Regions from separate parts of the Homo sapiens genome. Here all the other regions are linked to region 1. The links are contacts of gene promoters, found by promoter capture Hi-C in blood cells and fetal thymus (Javierre and others, 2016). All regions are on one chromosome and are shown on one strand. The core of a region is centred on a gene start or on the middle of the fragment in contact, and the rest is flanking DNA. Distances in the headings are between cores, read along the strand shown.

What was found. Contacts are between HindIII fragments. The CHiCAGO score rates a contact against its expected background, and 5 or more counts as called.
Region 2: a contact is called between a fragment that was not itself captured here and the fragment with the promoter of NKAIN2 in region 1, in 10 of 17 cell types (naive CD4 T cells, fetal thymus, total CD4 T cells and 7 more). The highest score is 14.6, in naive CD4 T cells.
Region 3: a fragment that was not itself captured here is called in contact with the fragment with the promoter of NKAIN2 in region 1 in 3 of 17 cell types (M0 macrophages, M2 macrophages and monocytes); the score reaches 9.7 in M0 macrophages.
Region 4: a fragment that was not itself captured here is called in contact with the fragment with the promoter of NKAIN2 in region 1 in 7 of 17 cell types (M2 macrophages, M0 macrophages, M1 macrophages and 4 more); the score reaches 27.1 in M2 macrophages.
Region 5: a fragment that was not itself captured here is called in contact with the fragment with the promoter of NKAIN2 in region 1 in 3 of 17 cell types (M2 macrophages, M0 macrophages and M1 macrophages); the score reaches 15.1 in M2 macrophages.
Region 6: a fragment that was not itself captured here is called in contact with the fragment with the promoter of NKAIN2 in region 1 in 1 of 17 cell types (M2 macrophages); the score reaches 6.0 in M2 macrophages.

What each region holds. Positions count from the first base shown.
Region 1 is chr6:123,802,469-123,805,194 of GRCh38, forward strand. It overlaps NKAIN2 (sodium/potassium transporting ATPase interacting 2), which reads left to right and starts at 1,397. Exons shown (of 7, transcript NM_001040214.3): 1 at 1,397-1,786. The coding sequence starts at 1,733. RefSeq lists an enhancer at 153-202. The HindIII fragment of the contact is 9,489 bases long and covers 1-2,726 here.
Region 2 is chr6:125,115,003-125,117,788 of GRCh38, forward strand. It overlaps LOC124901394 (a long non-coding RNA gene), which reads right to left. Exons shown (of 2, transcript XR_007059735.1): 2 at 2,625-2,786. Among named protein-coding and RNA genes, the nearest start is that of TPD52L1, 37 kb to the right of the region's middle. The HindIII fragment of the contact is 4,517 bases long and covers 1-2,786 here.
Region 3 is chr6:124,823,689-124,826,388 of GRCh38, forward strand. It overlaps NKAIN2 (sodium/potassium transporting ATPase interacting 2), which reads left to right. Exons shown (of 7, transcript NM_001040214.3): 7 at 1-1,952. Among named protein-coding and RNA genes, the nearest start is that of RNF217, 140 kb to the right of the region's middle. The HindIII fragment of the contact is 4,924 bases long and covers 1-2,700 here.
Region 4 is chr6:124,844,355-124,847,054 of GRCh38, forward strand. No RefSeq gene overlaps it. Among named protein-coding and RNA genes, the nearest start is that of RNF217, 120 kb to the right of the region's middle. The HindIII fragment of the contact is 589 bases long and covers 1,064-1,652 here.
Region 5 is chr6:124,865,519-124,868,218 of GRCh38, forward strand. No RefSeq gene overlaps it. Among named protein-coding and RNA genes, the nearest start is that of RNF217, 96 kb to the right of the region's middle. The HindIII fragment of the contact is 4,648 bases long and covers 1-2,700 here.
Region 6 is chr6:125,150,607-125,153,306 of GRCh38, forward strand. No RefSeq gene overlaps it. Among named protein-coding and RNA genes, the nearest start is that of TPD52L1, 1.8 kb to the right of the region's middle. The HindIII fragment of the contact is 876 bases long and covers 831-1,706 here.

The sequences.
Region 1 (2,726 bases), core at 147-2,646:
CTTGATGTGGCTTCGTCATCTTAATCTCTTAAGAAGGGTGCTAGGGAGCTGTTTGCTATTTAGCTCCCTAAACCATCCTCTTATCAATCGCGACACTTCACCCCAATGAGTCAGTTCCTCAGTGGATCTCAACAAATAATCTTCACTTCCTGGAAAAGTTAGGATTGCTTTCCTTAGCTGCCAGGGCTAAAAAGGAAACTTGGTCCTAAATATCCACGCCCCAGGGGCAGCCACTTGGGCCAGCATGTTGCGCCCTTCAGCTTTCCGCCCGCAGGTGGCAGCAGCGGGCTCCGAAGCCTGTCTCTGCAGGTAGCAGCCGCTTCACAGCTTTCAGGCCGGTGCTCAGCGGAGGCTGGTGCATCTCCACTAGGAATCCACACCCAGCTGGGACTGCTGTGAAGCTGAAGTAACTGAGTATTAAACTAGTCTCCGACTCTTTAGTATTTTAAGTGAAAACAAACAACAGTTTGAAGCAGCAACAGCAACTCATTGCATCCCTATTCCCTCCGGTTGCTAATTTTTCCCAACTCCAGCAGCAACTCGGTCCCCTTCCCCAAGCAGGGTCGGCTCCGTAGCTCTCCGCGCTCCGACCCTTCAGATCCTCGGGAGCCCAGGGGAGCCAGGTGCTGGGCGGTGCGTCCGGTGCCGCCGCGCCCCTTCTCGCCACCTCTGGCCTCTCCGCCACTCGGGCTTTCCGGCCGCTCTGGATGCCTCGGTTGCACCCCTGTTCCATGACCCCAGCTTCCTTCCCTAACCCTCCTCTTGGTCCCTTCTCCCCCGAGCGCGCGCGCACACACACACTCGGTTCGCTCCCGCGGAGTGGCTCTGGGAGCACGACCGACTTCAGCTCAGCAAACCGCGGTCATGCCGCCCAGACTCCTCGCCCCGAGGCCCCGGTCCCCGCCGCCGCCGCTTTCGCGCCGCTCCTTTCCGCCTAGACACCGCCGCCTGCGGCCGCCTGGGCGGCAGCCCCTGCGGTCCTCAAAGTTGGCCCCCTGGGAGGGGGCGGCAGGGAGCAGGATGAAGGATTTGTTGTAGGAGGAGGATTCACACATCTGGGCGAAGGGAGGGGCAGCGCCGCTGCTGGGACGCGGCGCGGACCCGCATCATTGCGCGCAGCAGCCGCTGCAGCAGCCGCCGGGGACCGCGGAGCCGGGACGCCCCCGCTCGGCCCGCGCCCCGCTCCCCGCCCCACCCCCGCCCGCCGGGCCCAGCAACGCAGGGTGCCTAGGAGCCGCGGGCTGCGCAGGGAGGCGGGCAGCGGCCCTCGCGCGCTTCTGCCGCCCCCGGAGCCGGCGCGCGGCGAGCGCAGGGCGAGCGCGCGTCGGGCGGCGGCCGCGCTGGGGGGCGTGAGGCGAGCGGCGCGGAGAGCGGCAGGGGCGAAACTTCGCGGGCCAGATGCCCGAGGGCGCGGCGGCGCTGCCAGGCTGCCGCTGCTGCCCCTGCGGGCCCCGAGCGCGCCTCCGCAGGCGGCACTGCCCGCGGCGCGGCGTGTGCACCGAGCGAGTGAAGGTATGTGTGGCGGGCGCGGCTGGAGCTGCCGCCGCCGCCGCCGCCGCGCCAGCAGGTCCTAATGCCTGTCACTTCCCAGGACGCTGGCAGCAGCAGCAGCCCGGAGCCCCCGAGCCCTCGGCAGGTTTGCGTGTCCTTCCCCGCGATCTGATTGGATAAAGTGGGGGCTCGACGGTGGCCGACGTGGGACAGTCTGGCTGTGGCAGGGGTCTCGGAAACCATGGGTTATTGCAGTGGCAGGTGCACGCTTATCTTTATCTGTGGCATGCAACTGGTAAGTGACACTTGGGTCCCCTTATTCTGTAATGTGTCTTTGAGATAGTGGGCAGGGGAGTGCAGCAAAGGGTCTGCCATTGACTAGAATGGACGAAAAAGATAAAAGAGAAGGTGACAGATATATTGCCTATATTGAAGATGATTTCAGGGAGACGCACTCTGGGGTACAGGAGAGGTGAGCCTTTCCGTTCCCACCTATTTCTGTCCCTTTTAAGACAGTTTGGCAGGTGCGGGTTAAACTTGTCTTTAATTTCTTTAGGAAAAGCAAGATGTAGCTCTTGTTCTTTATGCTTTGCATTCCTATTCATGTAACAACGTGATTGTCACCTACAATTTACCGTACAGGTTGTTAAACAGAGGAATACGGAATTTTGGACTTTTCTTCTCTATACTAATTTTGCAGTATCTTTGTTTCTTCATAGACATGTTTTTTTTCTTTTTTTAAGGAAAATGTTGTCTTTAAGTATAATGCTCTAAAAAAACCACTGTTTAGGGCACATGGTATCCTTACAACAGTCTAATTTAGACTGTTTGAGTTTTAGCCACATTGAGTTTTTAAAGTATGCAGATTGAACAAAAATACTTAGGTGAACTCAGCAACACCATTGTCATAGACGGAACCAGTAACCTTTAAATCACAATTAACACAGACAATTCCAAGAAAAACTATTCTGTCTTACATTATGCATATTATTGCTCCTGAAATAGATACTGTTGTCTGATCCTATAGGATGGAGAATTCTATGTACTTTTTGAGGAATGTTGTACAGTTGCAAAGGGGCAAGGAACCAATAATGGAAAACGTCATGTCTCTGAATTTCAATTCCCTAAGGGCAATGGAAGGAGGGTCTGAGTAGAGAGTTGAGAGGTGAAAAATACACCACTCTAAGTGGTTAATTTGAGGTAGGAGCTACTTGCTCACACTTGTCATTAAATAT
Region 2 (2,786 bases), core at 63-2,562, 1.3 Mb after region 1:
TTGGCACATCATGGCAATGCAGGGAGAGAAGTGGGCAGTGGCCCCACTGGGCAAGGCCTCTTGTGTCATGCAGAAGACTGTGGATTTGCTTACTGTAGATTCATCATTTCCACAAAAATAGAGGCTCATGAAATTTTAAGAAATATTCCCACCACCATTGAAATATGTGTATTTGTGGTGTGTGTGTTTGTGTGTGTGTGTGTGTGTGTGTGTGTGTGTAGTCAACTTTGGGAAATGCTGAGTTAATCCAAATTAAGCAGAATTTTGTTTTTATTATAGAAATTGTTATAATATAATAAAATTATAAGAGGGAGTGATAATATGAATATTTCACAATGTGTTTGATCTTGAAATCTGTTTACTTTTTAAAATGTTATCTGATTTGTTTTATTTATTTTAGAAGCAATATAGATAACATCAGGTAGATAAAATTTTGAGAAATGCCCTTGGGTTATGGAGAGTTTTTTTTAATTTATGAAGATAGTAATAACATGATTAGATTTGTGATAGTAATAACATTATTAGATCATGGATAACAATATGGTTGTGATTTTCAGGGGGAAAAAACTAGAGGCTGCCAAATAAACTAGATGATGGCTGGATCACCCCTAATCCACATGTAGAAAATGTAATACACTCACTGTGTATATCATGAATTTTAAACTATGAGAACATAAAAACAGATTTAGGGTATAGTACATTCAAGGGCAGTAGTTTATGCTCTTCAAAAAACAGACTCATTAAATAAAGCAATGGTCCTTGTTGGAAGAAATGATACTACCCAAGAGACAAAAAGAACTGACAGACTTCATAGAAAGATACATAAATATTACATGCCAAGGAGAAATTAGTACAACATTAAGCAAATTTGAGTAATAGCAAATAGAGAATTGTGATGATAGAATCAAACATAATAAATGCTCCACAACAATGCATAAATTACAGAATATAATAACTATAATTATTATAAATAAATAATGTATGTCAATATTCTGCTGCTTTTATTGAAAACAATAGATCTAGGTGGAGCACTCTAGCTTATGAATTGTTGAAATCAACTGTGACTATTATCATTGTGAGTTATTGAAACCAGATGAGGGAGTGAATGTGTGTGTGTGTGTGTGTGTATGTGTGTTAGTGCAGGTAAGCTAGAAATAGGGAGAGGAGGATGGAGAAGAGATAATAAGGTAGAAAGCACAATTCCTTTAATATTTGAGTCAAAAGGGAAGAATACTTTTTTCTACAGGCCATTGAATTATGCAAGCAGTTTGATGGATCTTGTTTGCTCTCAGATTGATTTTCTTCACCAGCATTTAGAGTGGCTGCTATATTCATGTGACAGTTATGAGGAATAATTATGTATTTTCCTTACTGAACTGGTTTAAAATGTCACATCGCATGAAAGTTCCTACAGCTTGTCAAATTGTGTTAATTTTCTTCATTTTTCTAGTGAATGCTTTAAACTGTTCACCCAGCTCATGAATAGAGCAGCCCTTTTCTTCCTCCTCTGAAAAAACAGATGATTGTTTAACAGATATCATTAGATATGCAGAAAATAAAGCATTCTGGTATAGATGGAGGTCAATATATTTAAGAGGAAGTTGCATATTTTTTCTTTTTGCAAGTTTGTCCACCAATATGGTGCAACATTGACTTCAAGTAAATTTAATCCACCAACCTTGGTTGTTAATTTGTATTTTCACTGAATATTCGCTAATGTTTTTTATAGGATGCACTGTGATAGTAATTATTTAAGTGTTTCCAGGAATGGAGAGAAAGAAAACTAGAAATTGGAGGCAATGTGGCATAATGGTTAAGAACGAAGGCTGAGGAGTTAATCTGGATTTATGTCCCATCTCCACTGTTATTAGCTGTTTGATCCAAGCCAGTCAAATAATCTAAGACTCAGTTTCTTCATCTGTAAGATGGGGATAATAATACCAACCTCCAAAGAGACGTTACAAACACACACTCACACACACACACACACACACAAATGTGTATGCGTGTGTGTATATGATGATTATTTTAGCACAGTCAAAATAAAATTGCTAATATTTACTTAAACTAGTATAATTACTTTGGTTTTTCCTTTCAAAATGAAAATTGGAACATAACTTCTAATACTATTGGTAATAGAACCATCAGGCTTTCCAGATTCTCCGTGGGTTCCACTTACCCACATACCTATCCAACCTTATCTATAATTAATTCTCAGAATTAACCCCTCATTTCAGTGGGGCTGGCCTTATTAACCAGCCTTCCTCCACCTCTGCCATTCTTGTTTCTGTCTCATACTTTTTTCCAACTCCTTAGAAAGCCTTTCCTTCTCCCCATCAACCATCTCACTGCACAGATTTGATGGCATGACGTCTTGCTCGAAGTCTACTTACTTGTTCTTGAATACTGCTTGATATTGTTATTAAACATACTGATTCTTAAATTTTTGAAATCCCAATCATCATCCTTAACATTTGTAAATTTTTTACAATTATAACCATCATATTATAAATGATGAAAGATATCTCAAAAGTTTTTTTTTAACATTCCTCGAACACTCTTTGGAACCATCTTTCTTGCTTTCAATAAATTCTATTCTCTAGACACTCCAAATGAACCTTCACTTTGAAATGACACACTATTTTTATTTTTCTCAATCCAACTTACCAAATTCAAGTCCTTAATTCTTTTTTTGAGGTATTAGCATATGGGGGTGTGAAAAGGAGGGTAGAAAATGAGAAATTACTTAATGAGTAAATATATGTTATTCAGGTGATGGATGCTAT
Region 3 (2,700 bases), core at 38-2,537, 1.0 Mb after region 1:
TGTAATTGCAAAAACAAACGAAACATGCCATGATGACCTTGTACCCGAAGTCCGAAATGGCAGATTGTTTGCCCTAAAGGCTGTACCGTACATACTTGCCTTAACCCACCTACATTGTGTGCCCAAGAATCCCAGTGCAGACAGCCCCAAGCCACTTCCTTTAGGCTAACACACTGCTATTAATTCTAAATGAGTTCAAGCCTGTGTGTTTCATGTCAAGGAACAAGACTGAATAGCTCAGCAGCTCCAGTGTGTCTGTATAAGAAAAGTGCCAGCTGTCAGCAAAGTGCTTTACCATAGAGCCTCCATGGTGGCCCAAAAGAGACAAGTAACAATAACAATATCTGTCATCTTTATAATTCTAAAATATGGTCTTCTGATGGGGTTGGGGGTGGGACAGAGTAAAACATTAATCTACTAAACTCACTAATCTACTGGAAGCAGAAAGCAGAAATGGCTTAACTCGCTGATTTTATTTATTGCACTCTAGGTGCTTTTATAAGTATCTACAATTGTCTTTTACTAACACAGAAACAGCTGTGGATTTCTATCAACAGAGGCCAACTGAATATGTATTAGCTATGTTTACTCTTTTATATCTAATTCAAATTGAAGACTCTACGTAGGTGAACTTTTTTTTCTAACTTCAGTGTACAAGATTATTTTTGGGTGGGTGGGGGGAGCAATAGTTACCTTGGTGAAATATTTGAGATCTTTTTGTGGTATTTGGGGGATCTGTTGTGTGTTAGAGTGTATTTCAACCCTCCTGTATTATTGTGGCAGAAAAACTGTGCTGTTAACGTAGTTGGCAACAAGATGCCTTTGGAAACTTAATAGTAGGTCAATGTGTTTATGGAATATTCTGAACTCCTAGGAAATTTTGTTCTATATTTTAAAGCATTATTTGGTTTTCATTAGTGGAAAACATAATTAGCTCAGGCTTATCAGGAACTCAGATGAGTCATATTTTTTCTTGGATACACCTGAGACATTAAACTCAATTTTTTAAAACTAACACACCATTCTTTAGTGCAGTGAAATTCAAAAGTTATAAATTGGCATGGAGCAAGTTTTTTCTTTGATTTCTATGAAGTTTCAGTTATTGGATTAAACTACTTTAGACCTTAGCCCATTCGGATCTACATACACCAGTTCCATTACTGTGTTTGCATGGATGTCTGTAATATACACACACATATACATTTGAAAATGATAGAGGAACAAAGAGTTATCATTGGAACATAAACTATAAAAAAAGATTCCAGCACTCATGCTTGAATTTCCTCAGTGGGTTGTATGTTTGTCCATACATACATGTATAAAATAAACAATTGCAAACATGTCAGTGAAACCTCATATGACGCTTTTATAGTGACATGCATGTTTAATGTATGAGAAAAATATTTACCAATGTATTGTCCTTTGAGTCCTAAAATATAAATACTATACATGCCAGAAACTATTCTAATGTGACTTTTAATGTGACTATTAAAAATGAGGTTTCACTGTACATTCATGCTGTGATGCGATTTCACCTTATAGTACATGTATATGGGTACAGAAAATAAACCCTCATATTCCTGCTTTAAGTTACAGCCAAGTTTTCACCAAATCACAACTATCATCACCACCAAAATTTTAAAAAACAGTAGTTGACTACTAAAAAGTAATCAGTGGACAGGTCATTTATGGGATCAGTAAGCACAGTAGTGTGATTATATCTGGGAAAACATCTACAGTTGTACAGCTGTATCCTCCTCAAAATCCGGTGAAGAATGCTATTTTTCTAGGCTGAGCTTTTGTTATAAACTTAATATTCAGAAGGCAAGGGTTATGATCCTGATGTGTCCTTTTTTTTTGCATTTGTTAATTCTGAATGTATTTTTAACAGAATGATTTTTTTGACTTACTAGTGTAATTTGCATTTTAAAAATAAATGGAAAAATACTTAAGTTTCTGAGCCATCCCTGAAAACCCCTGCTGCTTCTCATGGTGTATTTGCTTATGTCATTGACAGAGACACCCTATTAAATTTACATGAAGGCAACACTGATATTTTGTGCAGTGCAGGGATGTGTCAGCAGTGAAAAGAAATTGCCGGGTCATGGCATCATTTCTACTCAGTCATAGGTAACACGTACTTTCATTATCTGCTAACACTGAGGGTTCTTTTAGAAGACTGCCTGCAATAGACTTTTCATTTGGGGAACCTTCCTCCACCCCCACCTTCTATCTGGGATTTAGAGTTAGCATCAAGCTAATTAATAGTTGGCAGAGGGTTAGGTCACTACATTTAAAAATCTTGGTTAAATTATAGGCAGAGCTTTTTTTTTATTTTTATAGGCCAAATTATTTAAAATAATCTAAAATACTCATTTATTTCCACTTTGATGACAGGATCTTTTGTTATTGTTGTTTGAATATTGATATTCACCTCAACAGATGACAGTGTTGAGATAAAGCAGGCAAATAGGAAGGATTAGCCACTGGCATTAGCGATTGTACAAACATTGTTTCAGGTGAGGTTCATTGTATATACCTAAATGATTGAGGGCAGCAGGCGCAGGCTGCTCCAAGCACAGGCTGTGTCAGGTTCGGGATTGTGTCCTCTCTCCCACTGCACACAAACACACACCAGCTCCCATCAGTCAAAATGCTGGAGTTGACTGAAGACATGAAAGGCTTCGAGGCCATATTTTA
Region 4 (2,700 bases), core at 108-2,607, 1.0 Mb after region 1:
ATATAAACACACACAAATATAAATTAGTTCTTTCGAAAACTGTCTGGCAGTATCTATCATCTGTCTATCTGTCTGTCTATCTATCTAATCTTTTAGAAAATACTGCCAAATAGTTCTTCAAGCTATCGTATCAATTTACCCTCTAATCAGCAAACATGCTCTACATCCTCCCCAACACTTATTATTGTCCCTAAGTCTTTTCAATTTTAGCCATTCTGGCAGATATGTTGTGGGGTCTCCATAATTTTTTTTTAGCACTTTTCTGATGACTAGTGATAGGTACCTTTCCATATGCATATTGGTAATTTGGATGTATTCTGTGAAGTTTTTGCTTCATTTTTTATTGTGTTTTGTGTTTTTATCTAATTGGCTTATAAGATTTTGTTATATTTCTCTGAAATATTTATATATAATATATGAATATTTATATATAATATTTATAGAAATAGTTATATAACATATAAATTACAAATATCTTTTCCATATAAAAGATATTTGTAAAATATATATATAACAAATATCTTTCCCCAGTCTGTGGCTTGCATTGCCTTTTTGCTCTTTTCATATTATCTTTTGATTAACAGAAGTTCTTAATTTAAATAAAGTCCAATTTTATCTACTTTTCCTTTCACAATTAGTGCCTTTTTCATCCTGTTTATGAAACCTTGTCTGCCCCAATATCATAAGATATTCTCTTACGTTTTCTTCCATAGCTTCATTGTTTTTCTTTTAACATTTAGGTTTATGATACATTTTGAATTTATTTTTTGGTGTGGTATAAGGAAGAAATTAGGGATCACTTTTTCCAACCTTATATCTAATTGATTTACTGCCAATTTATGAAGAGACCATTCTTCTCCTACTAATTTGTGGTTGCAACTTTGTTTTGAATCAAGTGACTATAAATGTGCAGGTCTATTTCTAGGCTTTGTATTCTGCTCCATTGGTCTATTTGTCTATCCTTGCAGTGATACCACATTGCCCTAAATATTCCAGGTTTATAATTTGTCTTGATATTTGGTAGTGTATGTCCTATGCTTTTGTTATTCATGAAAGTTACCTAAGCTTCTCTAGTCATTTTCATATGGAATTTTAAAGTAGCATATCAATTCTTTAAAAATAAAACCCACTTAAATTAAATTGTGTTCTACCTACACATAATTGAAAAATATTGAGTCTTTGAGTCGATGAATATGAATATTTCCCCATTTATGCAGGTCTTCATAATACTTTATTATTCTTAATGTATACATCTGTACATCTTTCTTTAGATTTATTGCCAGGTATTTGCTGGTGTGTGTCCTATTTAACACATGTGTATAAATGCGAATAAATATATAAAAGTCAAAATATATAGAAATCAAATTAGTTTTTGTATGTTGACTTTGAATTCAGCAACTTGGTAAATTTACTTAATAATCAATGTGTGGATTGTCTAAGATTTTCTATTTACACAACTGTATCCTCTACAATGTAATGATTTTATTTATTGTTTTTCAATAAGAATATCTTTTATTGACTTTTTAAATAAAGATACTAATAACTTTATTATAGTGTTGAATAGAAATTTTGATAGTGAATATCTTTGTGCTTTCTTAATTTCAATGAAAAATTGATGGAAATTTCAGCATTGACTAGGGTATTAGCCACAAAGCTTTTGTAGATTTCTCTTATCATATTTTAAAATTTCCCTTTTATTCCTAGTTTGCTGAGAGTTTCCATCATCTGGTGTTGAACTTTATCAAACTGTTTGAACTTTATTCAGGTTCACCTTAAAGATCAGTGACCCTTAGCCTTGGCTCTACATTAGAATCACCCAGAGACTTTGTATCAGTCTGGGTTCAATCAGGAGACGAAAATCACACAGTAATTTGTATAGTCAAAAATCAGTATAAAAATTAACAGAGGATTGGAGCTAAGAGAGAGCACACAAAGAAAAGGCTACCTTCTTCCAATCTGACATCCAGACCTCACTGAAGGGGGCACAGCTGGGTCACTGGATGGCAGATAACTTCTCTGAGGTGCCACACTAGCAGAACTCATTGGAAAACTTATTCTGGAGTGCCAAAGAAAGCTATGCAGAAGAAGGAACGATGTTTCAGAGGTGATTGCGGAACTGCCCAACAGTTATCCACCAGAAGATGCCTAGCCAAGGCACTCTACTACAAAGCCACCTGAAGCGGGTGGTGGCCTGGGGAAAAACAGTCATGGAAACGAAGTCCACTAGTGGCACTCCCTTCTCTGACAGCAGAGAAATTGTGAAGCCACTTGAGGGTTGTACCAGTAGAAGGCACCGTGGACTGCTGGCCACCAGGCACTGACAATAAGCAATGAGCATGCTGCAAGAAGCTAATGAGAGGAGCACACTAGATCCAGGAAGGGAATCTCTGTTTTTCTGCATGGTCCCTCCAGCACCCTCTATGCAAAGCTTAATATCACGCTTGCTGCAAATGAAAAATACATAATGTATCCAGATCCCTAATTGCAAAGCAGTTTTAAAAAAGGAAGGATTTGGAGATAAGATGCAATAAATTGATTAATAGCATAGAGCTCAGAGCTTTTTATCACATACTTCCCAGCTTTTATTCTTCTCTGTTTTCCCTGCCCTACGGCCTTCACTTGTATTTTATGGGATCACCTTCCAGTTAAAATACCAACACTCAGGTCCCTGGTTCAGAGTTGCTCTCAGAGAATGCCAAA
Region 5 (2,700 bases), core at 197-2,696, 1.1 Mb after region 1:
CCTGCTGTGGTCTGAATGTTGTGTTCCTCCAAAGTTCAAGTTGAAACTTAATCCCCATTGCGGTGGAATTAAGAGGACGGACTTTTTTGAGAAGTGATTAACTTATGAGGGCTCCACCCTCATGAATTAATGCCCTTTTAAAAGAGGCTTCAGAGAGTGACCTGGCCCTTTCGTCCCTTCTGCGATGTAAGGACACAATGTTCATTTTCTTGGGACGATGCGGCCAAAAGGCACCATCTGGGAAGCAGACAGTGGGCAGTTACCAGACGCTAAATCTGCCAGCACCTGGGACATGGACACCACAGTCTCCAGAACTGTGAGAAATAAATTTTTATGCTTTATAAATTACCTGCTCTGTACAGTGTTTTGCATAGCAGCAGAAACGGATTAAGTCAAACACTTTCATCTTTTTTCTGTCTTTGTTTTTGTTGAAATCTGCCTTAAGAATAGGGTACAGGTGTGTGTGTGTATGTGTGTGAAGAAATGAGTGGAATATTATTTTCCCACCCCCCAATAATCTTGTTCATACTCTCAGGTACCACAGCCTATCACCTTGAGACTGCTGGGCAAATAGGAAAGAGGATAAACAAGACAAGGGGAGAAGAAGGAGGGTCTGTGGGACTAATGAGCACTCTAAGGAGAGCAGGGACAAAGTAACACTCTAAACAGAGAGTGGGGCTTCTCTCTCTCTCACTTCCTCTGATTTTAAGTATATGAGTAACACCCAGACACACACACACAAAGAAAGCTAGGGTTACTGATAAGGGAGGAGGCAATGATGGAGCAGTGAATGGGTGACAGGGAAAGCAGAAAGAAACAGAAATATCTATTGGTCATTGCTTGGTGCCTCTTTTAGTTTTCTAGTGCTGCCGTAAGAAATAACCAAGAATTTAGCTCCTTAAAACAACACAAGTTTATTATCTCACGGTTAAGTCAGAAATCCTATGCTTGGATAGTTTCTCTGGGTCCCACGAGACTGAAATCAGGATATCCACAGGGCTGAACTCCTTTCTGGAGTCTCTGAAGATGAATCTGATTCCACCCTTGGCAGAATCGATTATATGCAGTTGTAGAACTGGGGCACTTGTTTTCTTGCTAGCTATAGGCCAGGGGTTGTTCTCAGCTTCAGGATGAGAACAGGTTACTGCCCACGTTCCTTGGCTCACAGCAACATTGGACCAAGTTTTTCACATGCTTCAACTCCCTCTGACTTCCCCATCTGCCATATCGCTGTTTCTGCCTCCATTTTCTGCCTTTGAGAGCTCATATGATTACAGTGGGCCCAATTAGAGTCAGCTGATTGGTGACCTTAATCACATGTATAGAGCCTTTCAGGACAATATCTAGATTAGTGTTTGGTTGAATAACCAGGGGATGGAAATCTTGGGTGGACAACTTTAGAAATCTGCCTACTGTAGTGTGAAGTGCCATGCTGAGATAATACATTCCATATATTATCAAATTTAATTTTCCAAAAAATAGTATAACCAGGTGATAAGTACTGTTATCACTAAAAACAATAGCAACAACAAAAATCTTCCTATTGTTTGTTTCCAGCTGATGATAGCTATCAAGCTACTTTAAAACATCTCTAATAGGATTTTGTTTTTAAAGTTATATATTTAAAAAATAACTCTTCAAAGAACATGTCTGTTGCATAAGCAAGGGACAAGTATAACTGAGGTTATTTTGTATCATTTTAAAGAAAATCTCAACCTGCCTTCTCTCTATGCTCATTTCCATAGTGTGGCCAAAAATCCTAATGCTGAATTAGTGATCATGGCATTTCCATGGCAACATACCAGGGTGCCGCCAGCATAAGGCCTTCTTCTCTTAACTGCAGCATAAACAATTCACCTGATTATGGGCTATTAAAAGGCCACACACAAGGACATGTAAGTAGAAAAAGAAAGGGAAGGTTCTGGTAATGTACATTGGAATACATTTTGGCAATCCCTAATAAGCAACCTGAGAAAGAAGATACTGAGAAAATGGTAAAGAATTCTTCCAATTGGATTTTGCAAAAATTGGACAGGTTCTCAGCCAGCTGACTTTGTGGAAGTGCTTCTGCAAGATTTTAGGATAGTTTTTCTCTGTAGAAAGTGCTGATTTTAAAATATTTCTCTTTCCTTCTCCCTCATTATCCACACACACAAAAATTCTTTTCTCACTACATAAATACAAAAGTAAGACAGTTTATGACATACTTATGTTATGTATATATTATTTTAAGCCAAGAGAGAGAAGTAAAAGAATATATAATTTGGATTTTTTTATATCAGAAACAAAGCCCAGGAAGAAAACATCTTTTTAAAAACATCATTCACAAAGTTTCTTTAAACCCAGCAAAACCCATACCACTGTCTTGGTAGGTGTCCTACAAATTGTGAGTAGATAAACTTTGAATTGAGCCTTTCCAGACAGACCCCTTAGTATCATATGTATCCTTGTCTAGGCTGTCAACTAATGCAGAGATTTCTGTCTACCTTATCATTTTTTAAAATTCAAATACTCATGGGGGAAGACATGTTTTAAGTCACATTAAAATGAGTGAGTTTTATCAAGTACAGTATCTTACTATCCAGCTGTTCAGAGCCCACCACTATCCTTAAGAAAAAGGGGTAGAACCACTTCCCTTTAGGCACATCCTTCCTATACACCCCCAGACTGCCTTTTTATAAGTTCTGCCCCCAAGGGTGC
Region 6 (2,700 bases), core at 19-2,518, 1.3 Mb after region 1:
TTTTTTTTTGGTGATTTTTCTGGGCCCCCCAGGATAGCATTGAAGTACTGTCTAGTGTTCCTAGGTGCAAGAAGGTTGTGATGTGCCTTAGAGAGAAAATATATATGTTAAATAAGCTTAATAAACTTGATTCTGGTATGAGTTTTAGTGCTGTTGGCTGTTAGCTCAATGTTAATGAAACAACAATATACATGATATACATGAAATAAGGTGTCTTTAAACTAAAATATATAAAGAAACAAAATTGTGTATTGATCAGTTGACAAAAATGTTAGAACCACGGCTTGTGGAAACCTACCTTCGTATCTCCACTAAGAGTGATGGCTCAGTATTGTAAAACCATGTTCTCTTCCTCTGTCCAGGGCATAGTATCAGACCTTTACAGGCACAACCCGTCTTATTGCGCTTCTCTTAACTGTGCTTCACAGACACTGCATTTTTTTTTTTTTGATGGAGTCTTGCTCTGTTGCCCAGGCTAATCTCGGCTCACTGCAACCTCTGCCTCCCAGGTTCAAGCGATTCTCCTGCCTCAGCCTCCCGAGTAGCTGGGACTGCAGGCGCGTGCCACCACGCCTGGCCAATTTTTTGTATTTTTAGTAAAGATGGGGTTTCAGCATGTTAGTCAGGAAAGTCTTGATCTCCTGACCTCGTGATCCGCCCACCTTGGCCTCTCAAAGTGCTGGGATTACAGGAGTGAGCTATCGCGTTTTTAACAAATTGGAGGTTTGTGGCATCCCCATGTTGAGCAAATCTATTGGTGCCATTTTTCCAATGCCATGTGCTCACTTGATGTCTCTGTGTCACATTTTGGTAATTCTCACAATATTTCAAGCTTTTTCATTATATTATATCTGTTATGGTGATCTGGGATGAGTGATCTTTGATGTTACCATTGTAATTATTTTGGGGAACCCTGATCCATGCCCATATAAGACAGTGAATTGAATCAATAAATCTTGTGTGTGTTCTGACTGCTCCACCAGCCAGCCATTTCCCCATCTCTCTCCCTCTTCTTAGGCCTCTCCATTCTCTGAGACACAACAATATTGTAGTTACGCTCATTAATAACCCTACAATCGCCTCCAAATATTCACATGAAAGGAAGAGTCACATGTCTCTCACCTTAAATCGAAAGCTAGACATGATTAAATTTAGTGAGGAAGGCATGTTGAAAGCTGAGATAGGCCAAAAGCTAGGTCTCTTGTACGAGTTATTCAAGCTGTGAATGCAAAAGAAAACTTCTTGAAGGAGAGTAGAAGTGCTACTCCAGTGAATACACAAACGATAAGGAAGTGAAACAGTTTTCTTGCTGATATGGGGAAAGTTTGAGTGGTCTGGATCAAACCCGATCAAAGCAGTCACAACATTCTCTTAACCACAGCCTAATCCAGGGCAAAGCCCTCACTCTCTTCAATTCTATAAAGCCTGAGAGAGGTGAGGAATCTGTAGAAGAAAAGTTGGAAGCTAGCAGAGACTGGCTCATGAGGCTTAAGGAAAGAAGTCATCTCCATAACATGAATGTAAGGTGAAGCAGCAAGGGCTGATGTCAAAGCTGCAGCAAGTTCTCCAGAAGATCTGGCTAAGATCATTGATGAAGGTAGCTACACGAAACAACACATTTTCAATACGGATGAAACAGCCTTATATTGGAAGAAGATGCTACCAAGGACTTTTACAGCTACAAAGAAGTCAATACCTGGTTTCAAAGCTTCAAAGGACAAACTGACTCTCTTGTTAGGGGCAAAAGTAGCTGGTGACTTTACATTGAAGCCAAAGCTCATTTACCATTCTGAAAATTTTAAAGCCCTTAAGAATTATGCTAAATATATTCCACCTGTGCTCTATAAATGGAACAACAAAACTTGAATGACAGTACATCTGTTTACAGCATGGTTTATTGAATATTTTTAAGCCCACTATTAAGACTTACTGCTCAAAAAATGTTTCTTTCTAAATATTATTGCTTAATATTGGTTAATAATATACTTTGTCACTCAACAGTTGATGGAGATGTACGAAGAGATTAATGTTGTTTTCATGCCTGGCAAAACAACATTCATCTTGTAGCCCATGGATAAAGGAGTAATTTTGACTTTCAAGCCTTATTATTTAAGAAATAAATAGATAGCTGCCATTAATAGTGATTCTTCTGTTGGATGTGGGCAAAGTAAATTGAAAACCTTCTGGAAAAGATTCACCATTCTAGATGCCATTAAGAACATTTATAATTCGTGGGAGGAAGTCAAAACGTCAACATTAACAGGAGTTTGGAAAAAGTTGATTCCAACCCTCCTGAATGACTTTGGGAGTTCAGGACTTCAAAGCAGGAAGTAACTGCAGATATGGTAGAAATAGCAAGAGAACTAGAATTAGAAGTGGAGCCTGAATATGTGAGTAAATTGCTCAATCTCATAAGACTTGAATGGTTGAGGAGTTGCTTCTTATGGACAAGCAAAGAAAATGGTTACTTGAAATGGAATCTACTCCTGGTGAAGTTGTTCACAGCATTGTTGAAATGACAGCAAAAGATTTATAATTATATAAACTTAGTTGATAAAGCAATGGCAGGGTTTGAGATGATTGACTCCAATTTTGAAAAAAGTTATAATGTAGATAAAATGCTATCAACCAGCATTGCATGCTACAGAAAAATCTTTCATAAAAGGAAGAGTCAATTGATGCAGCAAACTTCATTGTTGT